7 separate regions of the Homo sapiens genome follow, and regions 1, 2, 3, 5, 6 and 7 are each linked to region 4. Evidence: promoter capture Hi-C in 16 types of primary human blood cells and fetal thymus (Javierre and others, 2016). All regions are on one chromosome and are shown on one strand. Each heading gives the region's core, a stretch centred on a gene start or on the middle of the fragment in contact. The rest is flanking DNA. Distances are from core to core; before and after follow the strand shown. Region 1 overlaps MIR3681HG (MIR3681 host gene). Region 2 has its middle 62 kb from the start of MIR3681HG. Region 3 has its middle 80 kb from the start of MIR4262. Region 4 holds the start of TRIB2 (tribbles pseudokinase 2). Region 5 overlaps LPIN1 (lipin 1). Region 6 overlaps LPIN1 (lipin 1). Region 7 overlaps LPIN1 (lipin 1).

Region 1 (3,241 bases), core at 396-2,895, 700 kb before region 4:
AAAGTACTTCAATTCTGAAGTCCAGGTTTCTTTACTGGAATGCAATGGTGTTGACGCATCAGGGCCACAGGTGCATGGCCCTGAATTTCAGCTAAGTTATCCCCACGTGGCTGCAGGTCTCCCCAGCTCATCCCTCACCCATATTTGAGAAGGGCATGGCTGGTAGGGGGCAGTGCAGCCTGAGGTCAGAGAGCAGTTAGGCTTGGGTAGGTAACAGGGCCACACAGAGCTGATTTGATAGTCTTGGTTTTAAGTACAAAATCGTGATGTTGTTAGAACTCAGCCCATCCAAGTCCATGGCTCCACTGATTCTGTCAGTACTGTCAATTCTCCCAGTATAATCTACCATTACGATTTTCATAGGAAGATGCAATAAGAGATAAGTCAGAATGCAGAGCTGAAGGCAGAACTTAAATAAGATATTTTGTTTTTCCATGTATCCTTGGGAGAGACAAAGGTGCAGTCTTGCCTTAGGCTGTGGATGGGATTTGGAGGAGTTGGGAGGGAGTGGGAGCTGGGGAGAGCCAGCCACTGGCATCTCCTGGCATGGAGGTGACAGCCAAGGTCAAGGGCATACCTGTGTGTTCAAAAGATGTGGGGAAATTCCACATGGGCAGTGTTTAGGTTCTGACTTACCTAAAATGAACCAGTTAACATAAATGTGACTATGATGTAAAGGTATGAAAGAGGCCTTCACAGCCTTTCCCCTCAGAACCTTGTATACTTATGGTGGCTTTGTTTTGTTGACCAAGAAGATGACTGAAAAGGCGAATGGTAAGAAACAGGTCCAAATTTTCCATAAAGTATCAAGAAAGAAATGGGAGAAGACAGGGCCTGGAGAGCCAGTTGGTCTACAGATTTTAGAGAGAAATTAGAAATGAATCAGAGAAGGGAGATTTTAGAGAAGAGTAGCTGTCAAAGTATGTAAGATTTGGGGATAATAAAGTTTCTTTTAGAATTTTTGCTGTGTGTCTGAAAATGTAATTTTCCCATTGGTACCTCTGAGGAAATCCATTTCACATTTAAAGTGTTTTTTTCTGAAGCTTCTCCCCTTCTTCCTTGGGGTTGGGTGTGTCTTTTGGATACAGGGCAGTGTGGTATGATGGTTAAAGGCACAGCCTCTTTAACCAGACTGCCAGGCATGTTCTAGCTTTACTGCTCCATAGCAGTGTGACTTTGAGCAAGTATCGAATGCCTTTGTGCCTCAGTTTCCTCATCCATGATATAGGGATACTCATCATATTCCCCCAACAGAATTGCATGTGGTGTAATTTGAAACTGACCCAATTGCTCCATAGAACTGATGTTTATAGATTATTTTGAATAAGCATAGAAATTGACATTCCCCATCTTGAAACTTGAGAAACTGACATTTGTCTTATCTGAGTTCCTTTCCCAGGAAACCATCAGTCAGGCCACTCAGATAGTATCAAGTAACTGAAATGTACCAGATCACCGCATCTGGGCAATGAGAAGTCAGACCCCTTGCCTATCATGACTGCCTAACCGACCACCTGCTACCTGTTGACCAGCTCCTCTTCCTTACCCCTCCCTAATTCCTGTTTTTATGCATGTAGATACATTTTTTCCCTGCTATATAAACCCCTAATTTTAGTCAGCCAGGGAGATGGATTTGAGACTAAGCTCCCATCTCCTCAGCTGTAGCACCTGATTAAAGCCTTCTTCCCTGGCAATACTTGTTCTATCAGTGATTGGCTTTCTGTGCAGTGAGCAGCAGAACCTAGACCGAAACCCTAGTGTTTCAATAACAAAATGAGGTATCACTTGCAGAGCATGGAGGGCAGTGCTGGGACACAGTGAGAGCCATGAAAGACTGGATTGTTGAATTGTAATGTGACACCTTGTTGGCACCAGCTGCAGTGGGAATTTCAAGGAGTAATTATATCAGATTTTTGACTCATTTTCTGTGATATTGCTTATTAAATAATAGCTATGGATCCAAGTCAAGAATTCACCACTGATATTTCTGTCGGCTCTAGGGTGCAAGGGGTGTGGATTAACCCTGTCGTAGGGTGTGGTGGGACTTGAAGTACCACCCTAGAGACAAAGGGAGACTGGGCAGGGTGCTGAGCTGGGAAAAGAAGATTTAAAAACAAAAAATGAAAGTAATCATGATAATCAGCTAATTCTGTCTTCAGGACTGGATATTTCAGATGGAGGAGTGGTTTATCCAGCATTATAATTCACTCGTATGAGAAATTCTCTGAATTTCTCCTGGCAAAACTCCAAGCTTGATGGTTGCCTGATTTCTTAGCAGAGCTGAATGCTGTCTGGAAGGGGAGGTCAGATGTGGCTGAGGAGCCTGCACTAAGTCGAGGCTTGACTCTGTCCCACAGCTGGAGAAGTGCTGGGGTAAGTGATGGGCAACAAAGGCTCAAGCCCCTTCTGGGAATTGACATGGAGGGCTGCTGGGAAGATGAACCGTAGGTACAATGTGGTCTCCTGAAGGACCTGGTGCAGGGCTACATAGGTAACTGATCCCCAGCTGTGGGGCAGCTGACAATCAAAGGCCCTGTGCCCTCATTTGCTTCTAGTTTGATAGGGCTGGTCACAAGCAGAATTTCCATGGTAGCCTGATTCCTGCTGCCCACAGGACCGGCACAGGTGGGACATAGTTGGTAGCAAACCCTGCTCTGTCCAGGACTCTGGTGAGGTGGACACACTAGGCATTTTCTCTGCTGGTAGCAGGACATCTAGCAGCTGACAGCATTCAGAAGGGGAAAGACTTGGTGACACTTTAGCATTCTCGCTTTTTTATGGAAGAAATACATCTCCTCTTTGTGAACATCCATACAGTTTACTAGTGGGTGACCCTAAAATGGGCAAAGATCAGAACACATGTGTGTTCTCAACGATTCCTTCTAGTTCCTCTCCCAATTCCCTCAAAGAGGACTTTGAGACTCTGGCAAGTCCAGACTACCTTTTGAATGCATTTCGTGTGTCTCACCCTATACATCTCCCTTATGAAGGTTTTTCAGTGCTTTTTTTGGGTGGGTATATATCTTGCCACAATATTCACAGAGACAGGCCATGGTACAGCCTCAATTCAGCAATTGATGTTCTGGCTTCCATGACTCTGCCTGCTACTTTCCTTACCTGATAGGTGCACACACCTAAGTTACTCTGTGCTAAGAGGGAAAGGAAGACAGGAGCTAATACAATCAAGTATGGCAGCCAATGCCTAGCATAGTAAGGTGCCGTAGCAAGTGAGGCTGTGTCC
Region 2 (3,302 bases), core at 237-2,736, 770 kb before region 4:
CTTCTTGAAAAATCTCATGCAAAAATTGAGGATTACCAGAAAACCTACCCCATAGATGTTGTGAGTGTCAATTGAGTTCATATGTGTAAGGCACCGGGCATCATGTGTGGTGAGGAAGGACTCAGCAATTGTTGCCTGTGTTTTTTATTACACTATAAAGCTCAGAACCCTTAGCTTGCTTTATGTTTCTCTATATGGTATTTTCAGTGGAATATCTTGCATATCCCTATATATATTTTTTCATGTTTGAGCCACCCTAAACCTCATTATTCCAGGATTCATCAGTATTTAAACTTAGCATTTTTTTTCTTCTCTAGAATCTCCTTTTCCCCATTCTATGCCTAAGTAAACCATACGGAAGACGACAAGTGTGACAGAAACAAAGGATCCAGGAGTCATGAAGAATTCCAAGATGGCCCAGAATCTCCCTAGTTATGTTAGCATTTTTATTTGAAAGTGGCATAGGCCAGGTGCGGTGGCTCAGGCCTATAATCCCAGCACTTTGGGAGGCTGAGGCGGGAGGATCACTTGAGGTCAGGAGTTCGAGACCAGCCTGGCCAACATGGTGAAACCCCGTCTCTACTAAAAATATGAAAGTTGGCCAGGTGTGGTGGTGCACACCTATAATCCTAGCTACTGTAGTGGCTGAGGCATAAGAATCGCTTGAACCCAGGAGGCAGAGGTTGCAGTGAGCCAGGGTTGCACCACTGCACTGTAGCCTGGGCGACAGAGTAAGACACCGTCTCAAAAAAAAAAAAAAAAAGTAGCATAAGATGGAGGTACAGGGATGTGTGACCCTTTGTTACTGAAACACGAGGGGTTCAGTGTAGGTCCTGTTGCTCACTACACAGAAAGTCAATCACTGAGGCAATGAGTATTACCAGGGAAGAAAGTTTTAATCGGGTGTTTCAGCCAAGGAGATGGGAAATCGGTCTCAAATGTGTCTCCCCAACAACTAAAATTAGGGGTTTATATAGTGGAGAAAGAAATGTAACCGTGTGTGAGAGGTAAGGAAGAGGAGCTGGTCAACAGGCAGTGGGTGGTTGATTAGGCAGTTATGACAGGTGAGGGGTCTGGCATCTCATTGTCCAGATACTGTGATCTAGTGAGTTTCAGTTCCTTGATACTATTTGGCAGGACTGATGGTTGATTTCCTGAAAAAGGAACTCCGATAAAACAAAAGTAAACTTCTGAAGTTTTAAGACTGGAAGGTTCAATTTCTGTGTTTATTCAAAAGAAACCATACATCAATTCTATGGGACAATTGGGCCAGTTTCACCTCCTTTTTATTTCTTCACCTCGACTGACATGGAGTCTGAAGCTAAGCAGGGGATCAGTATGCACATGGACTGCTGAGAGGCTGCTCTTTCTCATGTTTAGTGTTGGTCACTGAATTCTGCCTCTGGTCCTTGGCTGTCTGGAGGAGCAACTGAACATGGACAAAAGGTAAAAAACTCATTAAAGAGGTGACAGATGTCACTCAGAGGAAATGAATACACCTTGAAGGGGGTATGTTTTAATCAGAGACAAAGAAGCTCTCCAGCAGTTCTAGAAAATGATAGCCAAGATTTGTTGATTATCATATGCCAGGCACTGTGCTAAACACCTCACATACATTATCTTTTTTTAATGTCAAAACAAACTTGTGAGGTGTTACTATTATTTTCATTTTACAAATGTGACACCAAGATTTAGGTAGATTGAGTTACTTGTTGAGAGTTGAACCCAGCTGTCTGATGACAAAGTCTATTATTATTTTCAGAAGTCTCTAAAATATCAGTCCTTCAAAACTCCATCTGGTCAATGGATCAATTGGGTTAGTGGTTTTTAAACTTTTGACCTTAGTCCACAGTAACAAATACATTTTCTTTCATGACCATGACTCATGACTCAGGACACACACACACTCTTATAACCTCTTTTTTTTTTTTTTTAAGAGAAGGTCTTGGTCTGTCACCCAGGCTGGAGTGCAATGGCATGATCTCAGCTCACTTCAACCTCTGCTTCCCAGGCTCAAGCAATCCTCCCACCTGAGCCTCCTGAGTAGCTGGGACTACAAGTATATGCCACTATGCCCAGCTCATTTTTGTACTTTTTGTAGAGATGGGGTTTCATCATGTTGCCCAGGCTGGTCTTGAACTACTGGGCTCAAGTGATCCACCTGCGTTGGCCTCCTCAAATGCTGGGATTACAGGTTTGAGCCATCGTACCCAGCCTGTACACTCATATTTACATGCCCGCATATGAAAAGTAAAACTGAAACAAAAGTTTCACAACTCAATAGTTGCACTTCCTATACGTTTTCTATTAAATTTTCATTTTATTGCAAAGAAAAGGCTTATTATAACCACCAAATTTGTACGTGGTAATTTGCACTTTGAAAGTCTTAGAATATTTTTAATCCTTTTTCAAATTATTGGATCCTTATGTTTCTGTATTTCTTGGAAATCCTTTTAGGCTTATCCCACCCACTAGTCATTCCAGGAAATACCTTCTCATCATATATATAGACATTTAGTATGACATGGTCATAAGATCTTAGAGTATTGTTTTGTAGAAATTGCTAAAAAGGTATTTTGTAAAGTGGATTTTTTTGTGTGTTTTGTAACAGGAGAATTTGCTTTTATTTATCTTATTACCAAAAGAAATTGTATTATACTGATCATTTCCATATGTATTTTTAAAGTTGCTTGGCTGGGTTGAATCTTTATTCTTTAAGTTACAAGGACATTGTATTCAAATAAAAGGAACAATCATAATATTATTAATTAGAGCAGTAAGGCTTTGGTTTCCATGCAAATAAGCATAATTGAAATAGAACTGAGTTTTTTTTAAAGTGGATTTTGAAACTGGTGGAAAAACTTGGAAAACAAATATCTCAAAGCTAAAGCAAATGCAATCTGTATATGTAAATGAGATTGATTAATTTTAGCAGGCAAATGAGAAAATCAATGATTTTCAAAATCGAGTAATTTGGTAACCATTAGTTTCATTAGTCTTTCTGTTTCAAACTTAATTATTTAAATATAGAACTAGATTGAAGTATAATTTATGGAGAAATCATCCTTAAATTAATTACATGCAAGCTTTCCCCTATAAATGGAAGAATTGAAGGTGAAATTATAAATGCTTATTGCAGAGCATGGAATCCTTTGGTCGTGGCTTGTTCGGGTTTGACTTGGGAGATGATGTGGAAATGGGAGTACACTAACTTTGACTCAAAGCAAGATCTGAATCTCAGCTTTGACTCTAACTGTGAGCTTTTAGGCAACTTTCTTAACTTCTAAAGGGCTTCACATTTC
Region 3 (3,147 bases), core at 62-2,561, 800 kb before region 4:
TAACACAGATCCTATGTTCCATATCGTTGCTCAATTAAAACCCAATACAATTCCCTATCTTCCCAAGGGACTGTTGTAAGCTCCCTGATCTACGAGGTCTTCATGCCTCCTTGCTACACTATCATCTTTCCCTTCTGGCCTCTCTAATCCATGTGCTGCCAACCAGATGCCATGGCCCTTCACAGTGCCTTTCTGTCCTTTATACACAGGGGTTCCCTTGGCTTAAGGGCTCCCTAACCCCGCCCCATTTGTTGTCTAAATTTTTCTTTACTCTATGAATTGGTTCAAATATCACGTCTCTGCTAGAGCTTTCTTTGATCTACTAGCTCCCTCATGTAATTTTTCTGCCTTCCTGCATTAGGGATGATTCACTATTTTCGCTATTTACACATCTGCCTCCTTGAAGATAAGGACCACCCTTCATCTTTTATAGCTCAGTGTCAGAGTTTATATTTTGATAAACCACACACTTGTCATTGTTTGTTAATTTCATTGATACTTACTGAATTTTGGACATCTAGAGTATAAGCCAACACGATCTAGTATATCTTTCATTAGATGATGGAAATTTTCTATATCATTATCTAAGATGGTAGCCACTAGCTACTTTTCAATGTGGCTATTGAAATGAAATAAAATGGAAAATTTAATTCCTTTATAGTACTAGCCCCATTTCAAGTGATTCTTAGCCGTATATTACTAGTAGCTACCATATTCCGTAACGCAGGTAGAGTACACTCAGAGTGAGAAAGAAAATGGGAGATTACTTAGGGTTTTGAGTTCTTCCTGTAATAGCATTACTAGTATTCATTTGATTAGCAAATATTTTATCTATAAATAATGCAAAGGAGAGATTCTCCTTTAATCTCTATCTTTTAAAAGAAAGTTCTTCTAATTAATGTGCATGAAGTAATGTGGTTTTACAGTGCCTAGATTTGAAGCAAGAGTCTTTAAAATTAAGTAAAAAACTATATCTAGAGGCAGATGAATGGATTCCATCATGAATGGAAGTTTCATATCAGACTGTGACTCAATAAAACTACCCAGTTTTCATAGTTTAACTTTCAAGGCTTGTTTGCAGTTCACCATGAAGGATCTTCCTGAAAAAACATATTTATTTGGAGACACTCTTCAATCACTATAACAAATTGGCAAACTCTACACATATCTTCTGTAATTATTAGTCTGGTCTTTATGATGCCTTCATTTTGTGGGTGTGTGTAAGTGAAATCGAATAAATCCTGAAATTTTTCATTGGATGACACATTATTTATCCCAAATGTAAATCTCAGGTTTTGTTATCCTTTTCCATAGTTCCTATTGAACACTACAATTTACTTACCTCCCAACACTTGAGTTTTCATCATTATTCATATTTTACTCATTCACCATACATTTATTTAACATCTACTGGGTCCTCTATGTTGTGGTGTGTGCCAGGGAGACAGGGATGAATCAGGTACTGACTGAGCCCTCTGGGACCCACAGTTTAGCGGGAGAGAAGACAGATAAATACAGGCTGTACAACATTGCTTCAATGTGATTAGTGCTGAGGCCAGAACAAATTTCTATGGGAGCTTTGAGTAGGGAGCAATTCCTTTTCCTTGAAGCTGGGGAAAGTTTCATAAAACAAGTGCCACTTGAATAGAACGTAAGAATTAGCAGAAGCTCAATAGTAGAAGTAGTACATTGCAAAATGAAGGTTCAACTGAAGGAAATGTGGAGGCTTGAAAAATGTGCAATGTGTGGGAGAAGAGAGATCGTCAGGGTCCCTGGTCCATTCCATTCATCCTTCTGTTCCAATGCCATCTAAGTTTCTTATTATAGTTATGTGATGCATTTTCGTCCCATCTTGTTGATTTTCTTCAAAATGAACTTGGTGATGTGCTAGAAGAATGGACAGGACTCAGAGGCTGTTATATTCAGTTATACTTTATTGCAGGGAAAGGCTGCAGATCAAAGATGAAAGTCAGCAAAGGGAAAGGGGTGTGGAGTAAAGTCTAGGAAAAATAAGGCAGAAGCACTCAGGGAAATCCTCCCAGGGGAGTTTTATAGGGATGTCTAATTTCTTTCTTTTCTCTTTTTCTTTTTTTTCTTTCTCTTCTCCTTTTCTTTTCTTTCTTTTTTCTTTTTTTTTTGAGATGGAGTCATGCTTTTTTTTGCCCAGGCTGAAATGCAGTGGCACGGTCTCAGCTCACTGCAACCTCCACCTCCCGGGTTCAAGCGATTCTCCTGCCTCAGCTTCCTGAGTAGCTGGGATTACAGGCACATGCCACCATGCCTGGCTAATTTTTTTCTATTTTTAGTAGAAACAGGGTTTACCATGTTGGCCAGGCTGGCCTTGAACTCCTGACCTCAAGTGATCCACCCTCCTCAGCCTCCCAAAGTGCTGGGATTACAGGCGTGAGCCACTGCGCCCGGCTGGGACATCTAATTTCTGAGTATCAACATGTGACGACACGCATGGAGTGTGCCCAACCAGGGAGGCTCTGCTGAGTCTTGGTGTCCAAGGCTTTTCTTGTGGGTCAGTTTCATAGTCATGCAGCACCTAATGCGACTGACCTCAGCTTCTCAGATTCTAGACACCACCCCTCCCCACCACCTGCCTGTCCCCAAGGAAAAGCAGGCATTCAGGGCATTTACCATAAATCAGTGTCTGGATAAACTTATCTAGTCAAACTAATACAGCATGACACAAAGTCTCAGGCATATGAAACACTCTTATTGGGCAGAATATTTCTGGAGTTTAGAGCACATCTCCCCAAAGGTGGCCAAAGGCCAGTTCTGAAGGCAAACTTTCCTTTGGAATGTACAGGATTTGAGCAACCCAGGGCTGCTCAATTAACCTTTCCTGACCACTCTTCCTTTAGGATTTTAGGACTGGCTTGTCAATTTCCCCCAAAAAAACTTTGCTAGGATTCATGTACTGAATATAGATTAATTTAGGGAAAAATGCTTTTTCTATGATAATCTTCATAACTTTTTTTTTGAGACAGAGTCTCACTGTGTCACCCAGGCTGGAGTGCAGTGACGCAATCTCAACTAATTGCAACCCCCCGGGTTCAAGTAATTCTTGTGCCTCAGCCTCCCAAATAGCTGAGACTACAGGCCCAAGCCACCATGCCAGGCTAATTTTTGTATTTTCAG
Region 4 (3,050 bases), core at 459-2,958:
GAGAAAAAACAAGGTCTTCACCCAATTTCCATTTGAAATCAGAGACCCAGCCAGGGCTAGCACACAGGTGTCCCAACCCCTAATTATTACAAAGCTCTCTTGGCCACTGCATAGAGGAGGCTAGGCACCTCTCTTTCTGACTCAACAGCAGGGGTTGCTTCGAGACTGTTCCTAACACAGGCCAAGTGTCTTCCTGGGGTAAGACTGGATTAGGGGACCCTGCTCGGTCAGTGGTCCTGGTGATCGCCTAGGGAAATAGATCTATTCTGCTGGGATCTGGGACTGAATCCTAGGCAGGTTTGTGGGGAGTAGGATGGTGAGAGGTGCTGGAAGGCACGGGTCCACTTCTTAACCTTCCTTTTAACTCTGTGCTGCTGGGTGGAAGCTTTATAGTCAATGTCCTCTCCATCTCTGGCCACATTCCCAGGACTCCTGATCATTAGAGTGACTGTTGTCCCAAGTGGACATAATTATAAATAGCTCCCTTCTTTTACTGAAAGTGTCCTACAGTGGACAATAATTTAGTCCCCTCCTCCAGTGGAAAATATACTACACGCATGCAAAAGCTCAGAGGGCTCCAGGAGTCGTCCCAACTCCCCTTTCTCAGTTCCTTGGGATTTTTTTTTTTAAGTTTGTCCTCTACTAGATCGCTTCTCATTCACCAGGATATCTTAGATCAAGGCTGGCGTTTGAAGCCTCTGCCTGAGTTCAAGCCCCTTGCTTCCGGTGTTCCTGTCCAAGCCCGCGGACTGGAATCTCCCAAGGAAGTTACGAATAATTCGGGGGGGGTGGCGAAATGGGGGGTGGAGTGGGGCGTGAAACTGCAGCCTTCACCTGGCTAACAGAAGAGGACTCAGGACGCCCAGCACCCTGGATAGGACCCAACAGCGCTCCCTGGAGGTGTGGGTGCAAAGTTTTGTCTAGCTTGGCCTCCAAGGCCCTCCAGGCAATGCACTGGGAAGGGAAGAATTAGTGATTAAATTTGACCTGAATCAAAAGATGCCTTCAGTTCCTCTTCTGCTGAAAACACTAGAAATACAAGCCCAGGATGTGGGGATCGGGGGCAAGCGGTGACACCAACTAAAAGGAAGCAATGGATTTCCTTTTAAATGGAGAGGAGGATGTCGGAGAGATACCATGAAACGAATTCTCGAAACTCCAGGCAGCAATACCGATGAAAGCGCATTCTTCCAAAACAGAGCTCCTCATTCAGGGCCACATCTGAGCCTGGGGGCCCAATGCTCAGAGCGTGCCTGGCTTTCTGGGGAAAAGCGCCAGGAACATGAACGAGCTACGAAGAGCTGGAGCGGGCGCTGCGGGAGCAGCGTGTGGGGAACGGCTCGGGAGTCGCTGCTGGTAACCCCGGCCCAGCCGCCCGCAGCTGGGCTCGCAGCCGGCTCGCAGCCGACACCCAGGGTGCTGCGCCCGGGGCCCCGGGCCGCGGAAGGATATTTCACTTTGTTTACCTCCCCGGCCGGGCGAGGGAGCTGCGAGGCCGGTGCTGGCGCCCCCGGCACGGAGCTGCAATGGCAGCGGCGCGGGGAGCCGCCCGAGGACTGGCAGCGGCGGGGCTGATTGATGGGCGCCCGGCGCAATGAGGGGGGCCCGGGCGGGGGCGGGGCGGGGCCGGCTCTGGGCTGAGCCAGTCGCGGGGGCGGCGGGGGGGGGGCGGAGGCTCCGTGGAAATGTGTCGGTGACATTGAATGGGGAGACCGAGCGCGAGCGAGGCGCGCGCGCGCACACGCGCACTCACGGCCCCGCTCGCTCCGAGATCCCCGGCCACGTAAGTAACTATTAATACCGCCTCGCCGGGGGATGCGGGCGTGCTGAGCGCGGGGATTGGCCTCGGGCACCGTCGGCCGTCCCCTTTAATTTTTAAATACACGGTCCCCTCTTTTCTCTGGGGGGGGCAAGCAAGAAATCAAAGAAGGAGGAGACAAGCCGTCAATTTTCTCCAAAACAAACCCCACCGGGCAATTTGGTCTCGGGGTAGGGGGAGACGGGGTGATTGCAAATTATTCCAGGACGAGATCCAGTTCTCCAGCGGGAAAGGGGCAAAGGAACGCCGCGCGTTGGAAGGGCCAGGGACGCAGCTCCCCTTGCAGCGCCCGCAGGACCCCCGCAAGCTCGTGCCGGCGAAATCGGAGACCGCCGATCTGTCCTCGTTCTCTCCTGCACGTCTGGCTGCATTCGGAGGAAGACCTGGGGCGCGAGCGAGCGGCGACAGCATGAGCCTGTGCTGACCTCCGCGCGGCGGGCCGAGCCCAGGGCTTTGTCGCGGTACCTGCGCCCAGCCCGCGCCGCAACTCTGTGCCCAGCTTTTGCAATCTTTTGTTGGCAGCGCTGACCGCACCAAGTTAAATGCTCCCTTGCAATTTTTCTTTTTTTTGTTTGTTTGTTTAATTTTTGGAGAGCTCGCGATCTTGGAAAAGCCTCAGACGCCATCTACAGTTAAAACGTAGGTAACTGCCCTCTCCCGCACCCCCCCCTTACACGCCCCCCACCCTTTCCACCAAAAAAAGGGGGTGCAGCGCGGATTCTGGCTGCCGTGCGTCGCCAGCCGGTAGACCCGTGCTTGTTTCCTTTCTCTTTTTGTTTGGCTTCTAACGCGTTGGGACTGAGTCGCCGCCGTGAGCTCCCCGAAGACTGCACAAACTACCGCGGGCTCCTCCGCCCCGTCTGCGATTCGGAAGCCGGCCTGGGGGTCGCGTCGGGAGCCCTGGCGCTGCAGCTCCGCACCTTAGCAGCCCGGGTACTCATCCAGATCCACGCCGGGGACACACACACAGAGTAACTAAAAGTGCGGCGATTCTGCACATCGCCGACTGCTTTGGGGTAACAAAAAGACCCGAGTTGCCTGCCGACCGAGGACCCCCGGGAGCCGGGCTCGGAGCAGACGAGGTATCCGGCGGCGCCCATTTGGGGGCTTCTAACTCTTTCTCCACGCAGCCCCTCTTCTGTCCCCTCCCCTCTCGCTCCCTTTTAAAATCAGTGGCACCGAGGCGCCTGCAGCCGCACTCGCCAGCGACTCATCTCTCCAGCGGGTTTTT
Region 5 (3,506 bases), core at 458-2,957, 970 kb before region 4:
CCCTGGAATCACCCACTAGCAGCTTTGGGGCTTGTTCCTTGAGAAGGGCAAAGTCACAATTTTGACACTTTATTGAACCCTGGACCAATGTATTGTATAATAAGCCCACTCATTTAAAACTGGAACGGGGTGTGTGGGGAAAAAAGAGTTGGGACAAAACCCAAGCAAAGCCGTTCAGTGACGTCACAGGTTCTTCATTCAGAAGAGGCCCAGGTGCCTATCGGATGGCTGTTTCTGAAATGTTCGCTTTCTGAGCTGTGAGGGAGGGTCTGGAGAGAGAGAGGGGCCCATGCCTGTGTGTCGAGGGGACACACCCACACTGGCCCTGCTCCTTGATCAGAGGATGCACCAGCGCCTGAAGGGAATCTGTGCCCCCTAGGAGGCCACACTGGGCCCTGGGGCTGCTGGGGTCCGAAGCAAGTGCCCTGACCTCCCTTCCTGTGGGTTCCCTTCCTCTTCCTCTTTCCACAGCTTTCCCCTGTCTGTCTCCCTACCTGTAATTCACCCCAACAAGCCCTTAGCAGCTGGGGTTGGGGTGGGGTCTGTGCAGCCAGGGATATGTTGAGTAGTGAGTTTCTGCCTGTAGAAAGCTCTGGGTCTGGGCTGACCCAGACCCAGGCTGACACTTTTCACAATGAGGTATGTGGCCCAGGAGTCTTAAAACCTCAGCAGTGTCTGGCCCACAGGCTGTTCTGCACACTGAGGGATGCAGGGCGCGTTGTGCCGCTCCCACTCCCAGCTGAGAGGTTGGGAGGAACCAGATGGACTGGGCTCCATCAGGAGAGAAGCCAGAAGCATTTTCACACCGGTGGTCATGGCTACAGGGTCATGGTTACAGTGGATTTTTCAACCCACTGACCAAATGTTGTGATTCTTGCAACAACTTAAAATTTTCGGCTGATGCTGAATGCTGGGGCTTTCCAGAAATAGCCATAGGCTGTTAGAACAGGCACTTTGCTCTGTAAGGAGGCCTGTTTGTTCCTGAGTGTGAGCTGATTTGCATTGGCTCACAAAGTTGACCACAGACCCTGCATGGGAGACACAACCAACACCCCCATTTGCCTGCTGGCACGCACTTGTGCCCCCCTCCCCTCCCCGGCCTCGCTCCCTGGAAGCCCTCGCACCTCTCCCCTTGCCCTCTGTCCCCTAGCCACACACACTCACTTTTTGATGAAGTCGTCCTCCGCGTTCATGGATCTCACTAGGCTGTAGGTCTTCAGTTTACAAGACAGGAGACAAGCAACAAGGGTTTTAGGATAATGGGCACCAGACAAGACAGGCGCCCAGACAACTGTTCTGGCAAAACAATGTCCCACCATTGGACTCTGTGCAATGCCAGAATGCCACCAGTCTCGGGGTGGCCTCTTTGGGCTCAGATTTTGGGCAAATGAGAATGTGGAATGTAGGCATAGCCTTCAAATAGTTCTGTATTCATTTTAACTAGTAATATTCTTTGCCTCTGTCTTTTTGGGAAGGTACTATTTAAATAGGTGATATATACAAAGTCCCCTCTGGCAAGAGACGTTATTCAAAGACCGGATTTTGTCTGGAACCAGTTTGTGGTCACAGAATTAGCACGTGGTTTTTATTTGGTGCATGTGCTTTGAAAAGTACTTTACATTTACTGCCTCACAACAGTCCTATGAGGTGGCTGTGCTGATGTCATCCCTTTTTATAAAATAGATGCGAAACTGCAGTGCAGAGAGCTTAGTAACCTGTCTTTGATCACAGAGTTAGTGGAAGGTGGAGGCAGGATTTGAATACCTCCAGAGCCTGCGCTCTTACCTGCTGAGCTATATTGTCTCCTAATAGTGCCCTGGAACACCCAGGTGATATATGCCCACCTCCCAATTGCTGGGGTGTGGTAGGGGTGGGGGGTAATACAGAAATAAAGTTATAAGGGCAGAGCATTCTTTTTGACCAAGACACGAATTTGGACAGAGGGCTCTTGAAAGTGCGTAGAGAGAATGTGCCATTGGGTCTTTGAAGGAAAAGAACGTCCTGTCCTTAATCAGTGAGCTAAATAATTAAGAGCCAAAGGATCGGAGTCAAAGCCTTGGGCTGTTTTGCTCAGCATAGTTGTCATACCATATTTAGATGTCTACACCCACCTTTATCCAGGCCATTTGTATTTCTTGGCAGGAACGTGAGAACAAGCGTCACCTGGGGTTGTGGTATCTGAGGGTTGCAAAGTGTCAGCGCTGGAGGAGCTGAGTGATCACTCATCTGACCTTCCCTCCAAAGCAGGAGTACCCCTGTCCAGCACCCTGTCCTGTCTCAGTGGTTTCAGTGATGGAGACCCTGAGACTGAGTGGACCAGAGTTTTCCATCCTTCACTCCCAGTTCTCTGAGGTTACTAATAATTGACATGAAATACATGCAGACATAAAAAACACAAGCTAGAAAGCAACACTATGGGAAGTATTTATGATAAAAAGTGAAGATCTCTTCCTCCTTTTCCCAGGCTGGTCCCCAGGGGTGAATCTTGTGAATCTTGTTTTGTATGTATCTCATTCCAGAATTTTTTTATGCATATCAAAATATGTACAAATGTAATTTTTTAAAAATGGGTCCAGCTGGGCGCGGTGGCTCACGCCTGTAATCCCAGCACTTTCGGAGGCCGAGATGGGTGGATTACGAGGTCAGGAGATCAAGACCATCCTGGCTAACATGGTGAAACCCCGTCTCTACTAAAAATACAAAAAAATTAGCCAGGCTGGTGGCAGGCGCCTGTAGTCCCAGCTACTCGGGAGGCTGAGGCAGGAGATTGGCGTGAACCTGGGAGGCGGAGCTTGCAGTGAGCCGAGATTGCGCCACTGCCCTCCAGCCTGAGTAACACAGCGAAACTCCGTCTCAAAACAAAACAAAACAAACAAACAAAAAACCACAATGGGTCCATATTATAAGTATTTTTGTACCTGTTTTCATTCTATATATACATTTTCATGTTAATATTTATGGAGCTACCTCTCTACCATTTTATTATCAGCCTCATAATATTCCATTTTACAATGTGGATGGCCCATAATTTATTAAGCCAGAGTCATACAGATATTAAGTTATTTCTGATTTTCCCTATTACAATTAATGCTACAGTTACTGTTTTTGTACACGGATCTTACTGTATTTGTACAATCAGTTCCCAGCGGTATAGTTGCTAGGGTTTGCCAATAGGTGCCCCAAAAGATGGGCATTGCCACATTGCTTACCCCATTTATGACCCTGTTAGTAGTGAGTGACGATGTCTGATTCTCCTACTTTTCATGGGCCCTGGGGTTTTAATGAAATGCTTTGATTTTGGACCATCTGAAAGGCCTCTTTCGATTCCTGTATCTTTAATTATGAATGGGGTTGAATATCTCTCTCATATATTATTGGCCAAATGTGAACTGTCTATATGTTTTGTCCATTTTTTCTTTTGAGCTGTTCCAAGGCCATTTTTTTTTTTTTTTTGAGACGGAGTCTCGCTCTGTCGCCCAGGCTGGAGTGCAGTGGCGGGATCTCGG
Region 6 (3,529 bases), core at 617-3,116, 910 kb before region 4:
CCTTGCTTTTTTGTGAATCAAGTCTTGTGCATTTCTCCTAAGAGTTAGTGGGGAGCCTGGCTCAAGTGTGAGGGTGTTTACTAGGAAAAGATAAGGAAGAGGCCCAGACACCCACTCAGGCCATGTGTGGGACCCTGCAGCCTGGGGGTCTCTGTGTGACTCACTGCTCCCACTGGCGACACTGGGGACACCTGCAGTCAGGCAGCCTGGGGGTCTGAATGGCCAGCTGGTGTGCACCAGGAGTCCTGGCACAGAGACTCAAAACTGCTCAAAAGTCACTTTGTATTTTGAATTTGGTGTGATTTCTTTGGGTCTAGACTATATTCTTCTGGATATGAGGCATGACTGATAACCAAGACTTCTCTTTTTCCAATTCGTGTCAGTATAATAATAATTTAAAAACATGGTTATTTAGGGAAATGTATTTTCACACTTGGCTTAAATTTGTCTCCCTGAATGATGATCTTCCTATTTAGTCCTAGAGTGGTAAGTGTATCCTATTCCAAACTTGTGATTTATTACGCCGTGTAGCCCCGTCATTGAATCCTGGCTAATGACTGTAATCTGAAAATACTTGATCAAATTAGCACTATCCTGGGAAGTAGAACAACTCTGTAGCAAGTAGGCAAGTTGCATTACAAGGGGGCCTGAGAGAGCTGAGGTTTCATTTTGCCTGTCCAGCCCCGGAAAGAACCAGAACAAGGAAGGGTGGGGAAAGAAAGAATTATACAAGGGCCCAGGGCAGTCACTTGTTTTTAAAGCCGAATCCTGCTTCTCATAGAACAGAAGCCAAATGCCCATCAATCAGGGCCTTTCCCTCAAGCAGACAAATACTAATGGTTCATGTTTTTCAGAAAAGCTTGAAGTTGAAGAATGGCCCCAACGACGTGGTTTTCAGTGTCACCACGCAGTACCAAGGCACGTGCCGCTGTGAGGGCACCATCTATCTGTGGAACTGGGATGATAAAGTCATCATTTCTGATATTGATGGGACAATTACCAGGTAGGTCCTGCTGACTTGGGGCCCATGGTAGATTTCTTTGCTTCACCGTGGGGGTCTCTGGGCCTGGTGTTGGCACCTCTGCTCTCCTCATGGGACTTGCACGGTTCGAATTCTGGTGCAGTTGGAGCTCCTTACGTAGTTTCAGCTCCTTGGTGGCAATCATTGTGTTTAGGGCTTAGTTGTTTCCTTCTGGGGTATTATTATCTCTTCGACTTGGTTGCTTCTGTGGGGGCTTCTCAAGAACGTCTTTTTGAATGGCCTTTACCTTTGATTGAACAAGCCGGTCACCTCGATGCATGATCAGACTGGAGGCGTCCTTCTGTGGATTACCTGTCCCTCCGTCAGCATCAACTTTGATGACTTGAGCCTTGGGCTTTCTATCCAGAAAGAAAGTTGTGGGTCTTGTTTGTGTTTTTTTTTTTTTTTTATGAGGCATGAATGGTGCAATGAATCTGAAAGGGATTTTTACTTTATTTTTCTCTTTTCCTCTTCATTTAGATCAGATACTCTTGGCCACATTTTGCCCACCCTTGGGAAGGATTGGACCCATCAGGGCATCGCTAAGCTGTACCATAAAGTGAGCCAGTGAGTACAGAGTTCCTGTTTCCCGCCTCCTGTGAACGCTGGTGTGTGCACCGCACTCTGCATATGGAATCTTTCCTGTCCCAGCACGGGGTGACTTGCAGAGAGGGCTGCACCTCAACCAGGGAGGGGCAGTGGGGGTCAGGGGTAGCAGTGGAGTCCAGAGTGAAAGTGAATCCCAGCAACTCCAAATTTGAATTCAATACCAAGAAACAAGGGGCGAAGTATAGGGGAATTGATTACTAGGAGAACACAGATGGTGGCAGCATTAGGGGTGAGACTGAGGTTTAGTTCATCCCGAGGGATGGCAGAGGTAGCCAGTTGAAGAAATAGGAGCTTATATGTTATATATGCCAAGTGATTTTCTGTAGACTAAAAAGTTGCAGATTCCAGGCAAGTTTTGGCGGCGTTGCAGACCCTGCGAGCCAACCAGCAGGGCACATCATGTCTACCTGGTCTGTGGAGTGCTCCAGCAAGTGGCCCAAAACAGAACAGTGCCCACCGTGGGACCCTCAGCCCCAGACATCAGATGGGAGAGGGGTTCTCCGACTGCTCTCCTGTGCTGGGTACATGGGTTACTTCACTTATATCTTACAGAGATTCTGAAAAGCACATAATATCATTTCTGTATTTAGATGAGTGAAATTAACTAGGAGAACTAAAGTGATTTATCCAAATTCTCATTGCTCTCGTCTGCCTCCAGGGTTCAGAGCCCTGCAGGGATTCTCCATGCCCCGCCCCTTCCGAAACACCCCCATTCTAGCTTGCCAGGCCCAAGCCTCTCTCCCGCTCAGTCATGCCTCCTCCAGCCTTTTGTGGCCTAGAGTCTCCCATGCGAGTGAAATCTCCCCCTCCACAGCATTCTGTTCTCCAGCCAGTTAGAGCTGGAAGGTGCCTCTGCCTGAATCAGGACAGTGCGGTCTCTCCGTGGGTGAGGTGGGTGAGCAAGTTACATTCACACTTAGTGAGTGTCAAGATAGTGTCAAGACGGAAGTGTCAGGCCCATGGTTCCCAACCTTGTTTGCTCATCTCTAGCCCACAGTGGTGATGGTAGGGAATGGGCCACCATCCAGAGCTGTTTCTAGAACTCTGTGAACACAGATGAATGAACTGTATTTCCCTGCCCTGCATCCGTTCATCCATCCAGCATTCCTTGAGTGCCTGTTAGTGCCTCATCCTAGGGCAGGTGCCTGGGATTGCTATGAACTAGGTAAGTCTCTGACCTGGGACTTTATGATCCAGTAGAAAAATGGCGGCTTGGAGAGAGAACCTTAATCCTGGTGGGATTAAAAGCTTCAGATTTTGTTGGGCACATGTCGATAGTCCCAGCTATTTGGGAGGCTGAGGCGGGAGGATTGCTTGAACCCAGGAGTTCGAATCCAGCCTGGGCAACATAGTGAGATTCCCCCCCATCTCTCTAAAAAAATAAGTATGTACATTAAAAAAGCTTCAGATGTCATCTTAGATGCCCAAGCTCATTGGTTTGACTTTACTTTTCTAGATTTCATCTTTAAAAAATTATTAATACAAAAGTTATGCATACTTCTTAAGACATAAAAATACTAATAAAAGAGGCTGAGATTATGGAAACAGTAAAGCGCAGAGGTTGTATCACCCTCCTGCCTGCCCTTGCTGCAAGCTATTCCCTTCCTTAAAAGTAGAACTACTATGAACAGTTTGGTTCTATCTTGCTGAATTTCAAAAACTTATTTACATCCCCACACACATACACTCACATTATTTAATTATTCATCATATCTTTTTTGTTTCATTTTATGTAATATTTACCTTACTCTTTTTGCTACTGGGCAGAATCCTGTCGTCTAGATACACCATACTTTCTTTAACTCGCCCTCTATTGATGAACGTGTAGGTAGTTGCCACTTTTTCCCCTATTGCCAACAGTGATGCAGTAAGCGTTCATAGACAATGCTTATGATATAT
Region 7 (3,115 bases), core at 1-2,500, 930 kb before region 4:
ACTGGGCGGCGCCCCACCTCTGGACAGGGGCGCAGCACCGGGCTGCCCTCCCTGCAAAGCCTGAGGTCATGTTGTCCACAGTGGTCGTGGTCCACAGCCCAGTAAGTGGCAGCTGTGCAGCCCTTTTTTCCCCCAGGAGGGTCTCCCGTGATCCTGGGGACCCACCCTCAGTCCCCCTGCGATCTAGGGCAGGGCTGGCGCCTGGAGGGGAAGGGCAGGGAACAGGGAGGACAGCTTGCTTCTTCTTCAGTATATTTTAGGGGGATACAGGGAGATGCAGCCAGCTGAGAAGTAATGGTTTTCTCTCCTAAGCTAAGGCGTTTAATGTCTCTTTCCTTGTCGTGGTGCTTTAATAAACATCTGTGCTGAGATGCAGCCGTCTGCGGCTCTGAGGGTGGCCGCGTGCCAGAGCATCACTGGATGGTGATGTAGGACCCTGAACTGGGACAGTCCTCAGCCGGTCTCTGCCGCTTTTCCTCCTTCCAGCGGAGATCCTTCCGGACTCGCAAAACATGCAAGCGACAACGGAGCCCGGTCAGCCAACCAGTCCCCGCAGTCGGTGGGCAGCTCGGGCGTGGACAGTGGCGTGGAGAGCACCTCGGACGGGCTGAGGGACCTCCCTTCCATCGCCATCTCCCTCTGCGGGGGCCTCAGCGACCACCGGGAGATCACGAAAGGTACCGCGGGCCTCGCGCGGGCGCCCTCTGGTGGCCGCCGGTCAGAAGGCGCAGAGGCTTAGGCTTCTCCAAGGAGTGCGTGTCAAGGCAGCTTTTCCCTTGGTTGCGGTTAATGATAGCACAGATGATAGCACCGAACTCATAATCCCGATGTTTCTGGCTTGCAGTTAGTCGGCCTCAGAGTTCTGTGGGTCACCCATGGCTCGGGCCATCGTTGTGTGTCTCCTGTGCCCCAGGCTAGCACTGCAGAGATGGCCTCCAGAGGCCTGCAGGCTAGAGGGGGTGTCAGTCTAATTAAATTAGAGGGTGTCGGCAGCGAGAGAGAAGTGCGCCGGCGCCTTGGAACAGGGAGGTCTGAGTTTGTCGGAGGAGGGCTGGGAACTTTTCCCAGCTGGATTCAAAGGGCGTTAATCGGGTGGGCTTAGGTGATTCATTCACAGCACCTGCCACATTCGTAGCAATGCACTCCCAGGGCCTCCTGACAGTTCCATGGCAGGGTGTGCCCACGCCCCCCAGTGGGTGCAGTCAGCAGTTATCAGCTGGGGACTAGACACAGTGGCCCTGCACCCCTCCCGCCCCCTCTCTCACCACTGCCTCTTTTCCATCCCCTCGTGGTATTTCTAGCAGGGAAGGGGCCGAGGCTGTGTACTTCTTCCCTCTACCTCTCAGGAGCCACCCCCATCTCCCCTTCCAACCAGGGCTGCCATGTGAGACTCCTGCCTCCACCCTGGTCCCTTCAAGGCTTTGGGAATTTTTTCTTCCGCAAAGATTGAGACCTTTTTGTTCTCACGCCCGTGCCAGCCAGTCCCTTGAGAGCGGAAACAAGATTGTGTGCTGGGTCCCGCCGGCTCCATTCATTCACTCAGTTTTCCTAGGGCCACACATTAATACCCAGCCTCACTGTGTTTCTGAAGTCATGGGGGCTCTCTGGACACTGGCGTGAGGAGTCCCCTGGGCGTTCCCTCCCTGATATACATGAGCTGGTGGGGGTGGGGTGGCAGCACTGACAAGGCTGGGCACCGTTATCTGAGTGTTATCTCATGGGGCCAGGATCTGCAGCTGTCCAGTCCTTACAGGTGAGGCCAGATCGTCACAGTCAGGAGACCCCAGGAGAGTCCCCGGAGGTCCTGATTAGGGCTCTGAGGGTGCATGTTGAAGCCAGTCAGGCTGGCATCAAGACCCAGGGACTCTTTTCCTGGACGGAGGAGATTCTCAGTGTCTGATGTCTGCTGGGTTTCGGTTCGGTTCAGGGTAAATAGGAGCTCCCAGGGAAGGAGTGGGCGTGGCTCTGGGCCAGGGAGATGGTCAGAACCGCGGTCAAGGCTTAAGGTACAGCCCAGCTGCCAGAGCCCGTCAAAGAACTGAGGGTCCGGGGCTGAGGTCTGGGCCTCCTGACCCTGCCACCTTCTCCTTTGCTCTGATCCTGGTGGGGCTGCCCCACCATGATGAGAACAGTGCCCTGCCTGCTTCTGATTGTGGTGGAGGCAGCCCCATTTTTGAAAGGGCCCTGTGCTTTCTATTTACGACATTATCAGTCCCCATGACCACCCTAGGAAGCAGATGTGGTTATTATCCCCATGCTAGAGGAGGGAACTGGGGCCTGGGAGGTGAACCGCTTGCCCAGGGTTACCCCCGTAATCGTGACTTCAGCCGAGGGAGCCTGGCTTCTGCGCCATGCGTAGCCATGACTCTGCCTGTGCAGATGCACGTGTGTGCTGTTTTCACCCCTACTCCCTGTGTGAACGTATGTGCCTCAACTAAGGTACACGTCCCCCAACATCCTCAGCCTTGCCCTGGCCTCCCTGCATTGCTGCACAGACGCCGCCTTCCAGGTAAAATGGTGCGGCCTTTACAAATACATTTTATAGGATTGTCTGCACAGTTGGAATGCACAAACTCTCAGAAAACACTTGTGAGTGAGCAAATGAAAGGTAGGCCTAATTTTGAACTGAATTTTCTTTTTGTTTTTCCCTGATCCTCTGCAATTGCTGTCACAGATGCATTCCTGGAGCAAGCTGTGTCATATCAACAGTTTGTGGACAACCCCGCTATTATCGATGACCCCAATCTCGTGGTAAAGATTGGGAGTAAGTAAGTACCTCTTGAAAGTCACTTTGGCAGTAGCATGATACTGTTTCTGTTTCATGTTTTCAAATAGACCTAGACATTAAGCCTTAGAAATATATAAAATAAAGACTTTGCTACATTGCATTATTGCATTATCTTCACTGTGGTCAGGGTTCCATGCCAATAGAATTGGCAATATAGCTGATAGGTTCAGATAGCTCTCAGTCTTGTGAGTTTTCTTTTCTTTTCTTTTTCTTTTTTTTTTTTTTTTTTTTGCGACAAGGTGTAGCTCTGTCTCCCAGGCTGGAGTGCAGTGGTGCAGTTGTAGCTCACTGTAGCCTTGAACTTGTGGGCTTAAGAGATCTTCCCAC

The links. The method cuts DNA at HindIII sites, captures the fragments that hold promoters and counts their contacts. A CHiCAGO score of 5 or more calls a contact.
Region 1: a contact is called between a fragment that was not itself captured here and the fragment with the promoter of TRIB2 in region 4, in 4 of 17 cell types (total B cells, naive B cells, erythroblasts and 1 more). The highest score is 7.4, in total B cells.
Region 2: a fragment that was not itself captured here is called in contact with the fragment with the promoter of TRIB2 in region 4 in 4 of 17 cell types (total B cells, naive B cells, total CD4 T cells and 1 more); the score reaches 7.3 in total B cells.
Region 3: a fragment that was not itself captured here is called in contact with the fragment with the promoter of TRIB2 in region 4 in 4 of 17 cell types (monocytes, neutrophils, total B cells and 1 more); the score reaches 6.5 in monocytes.
Region 5: a contact is called between a fragment that was not itself captured here and the fragment with the promoter of TRIB2 in region 4, in 7 of 17 cell types (naive CD8 T cells, total B cells, fetal thymus and 4 more). The highest score is 9.8, in naive CD8 T cells.
Region 6: a contact is called between a fragment that was not itself captured here and the fragment with the promoter of TRIB2 in region 4, in 5 of 17 cell types (erythroblasts, total B cells, M0 macrophages and 2 more). The highest score is 7.8, in erythroblasts.
Region 7: a fragment that was not itself captured here is called in contact with the fragment with the promoter of TRIB2 in region 4 in 1 of 17 cell types (total B cells); the score reaches 5.1 in total B cells.

Annotation. Positions count from the first base shown.
Region 1 is chr2:12,019,619-12,022,859 of GRCh38, forward strand. All of the region lies in intron 2 of MIR3681HG (MIR3681 host gene), which reads left to right. Among named protein-coding and RNA genes, the nearest start is that of MIR3681HG, 14 kb to the left of the region's middle. The HindIII fragment of the contact is 1,208 bases long and covers 1,042-2,249 here.
Region 2 is chr2:11,943,430-11,946,731 of GRCh38, forward strand. No RefSeq gene overlaps it. Among named protein-coding and RNA genes, the nearest start is that of MIR3681HG, 62 kb to the right of the region's middle. The HindIII fragment of the contact is 3,195 bases long and covers 1-3,084 here.
Region 3 is chr2:11,915,471-11,918,617 of GRCh38, forward strand. No RefSeq gene overlaps it. Among named protein-coding and RNA genes, the nearest start is that of MIR4262, 80 kb to the left of the region's middle. The HindIII fragment of the contact is 5,197 bases long and covers 1-3,147 here.
Region 4 is chr2:12,715,228-12,718,277 of GRCh38, forward strand. TRIB2 (tribbles pseudokinase 2) reads left to right here and starts at 1,709. Exons shown (of 3, transcript NM_021643.4): 1 at 1,709-3,050. LOC124905974 (a long non-coding RNA gene) reads right to left here and starts at 1,531. Exons shown (of 2, transcript XR_007086222.1): 1 at 1-1,531. RefSeq lists silencers at 1,297-1,516, 1,607-1,666 and enhancers at 1,619-2,258, 2,107-2,176. The HindIII fragment of the contact is 5,863 bases long and covers 384-3,050 here.
Region 5 is chr2:11,748,997-11,752,502 of GRCh38, forward strand. All of the region lies in intron 1 of LPIN1 (lipin 1), which reads left to right. Among named protein-coding and RNA genes, the nearest start is that of LPIN1, 4.1 kb to the left of the region's middle. RefSeq lists enhancers at 332-591, 612-661 and a silencer at 1,122-1,181. The HindIII fragment of the contact is 6,273 bases long and covers 1-3,506 here.
Region 6 is chr2:11,803,569-11,807,097 of GRCh38, forward strand. LPIN1 (lipin 1) reads left to right here. Exons shown (of 21, transcript NM_001349206.2): 16 at 855-1,003; 17 at 1,502-1,588. Among named protein-coding and RNA genes, the nearest start is that of MIR4262, 32 kb to the right of the region's middle. The HindIII fragment of the contact is 2,019 bases long and covers 858-2,876 here.
Region 7 is chr2:11,784,400-11,787,514 of GRCh38, forward strand. It overlaps LPIN1 (lipin 1), which reads left to right. Exons shown (of 21, transcript NM_001349206.2): 10 at 487-677; 11 at 2,675-2,768. Among named protein-coding and RNA genes, the nearest start is that of MIR548S, 19 kb to the left of the region's middle. RefSeq lists a silencer at 324-618. The HindIII fragment of the contact is 4,737 bases long and covers 1-3,115 here.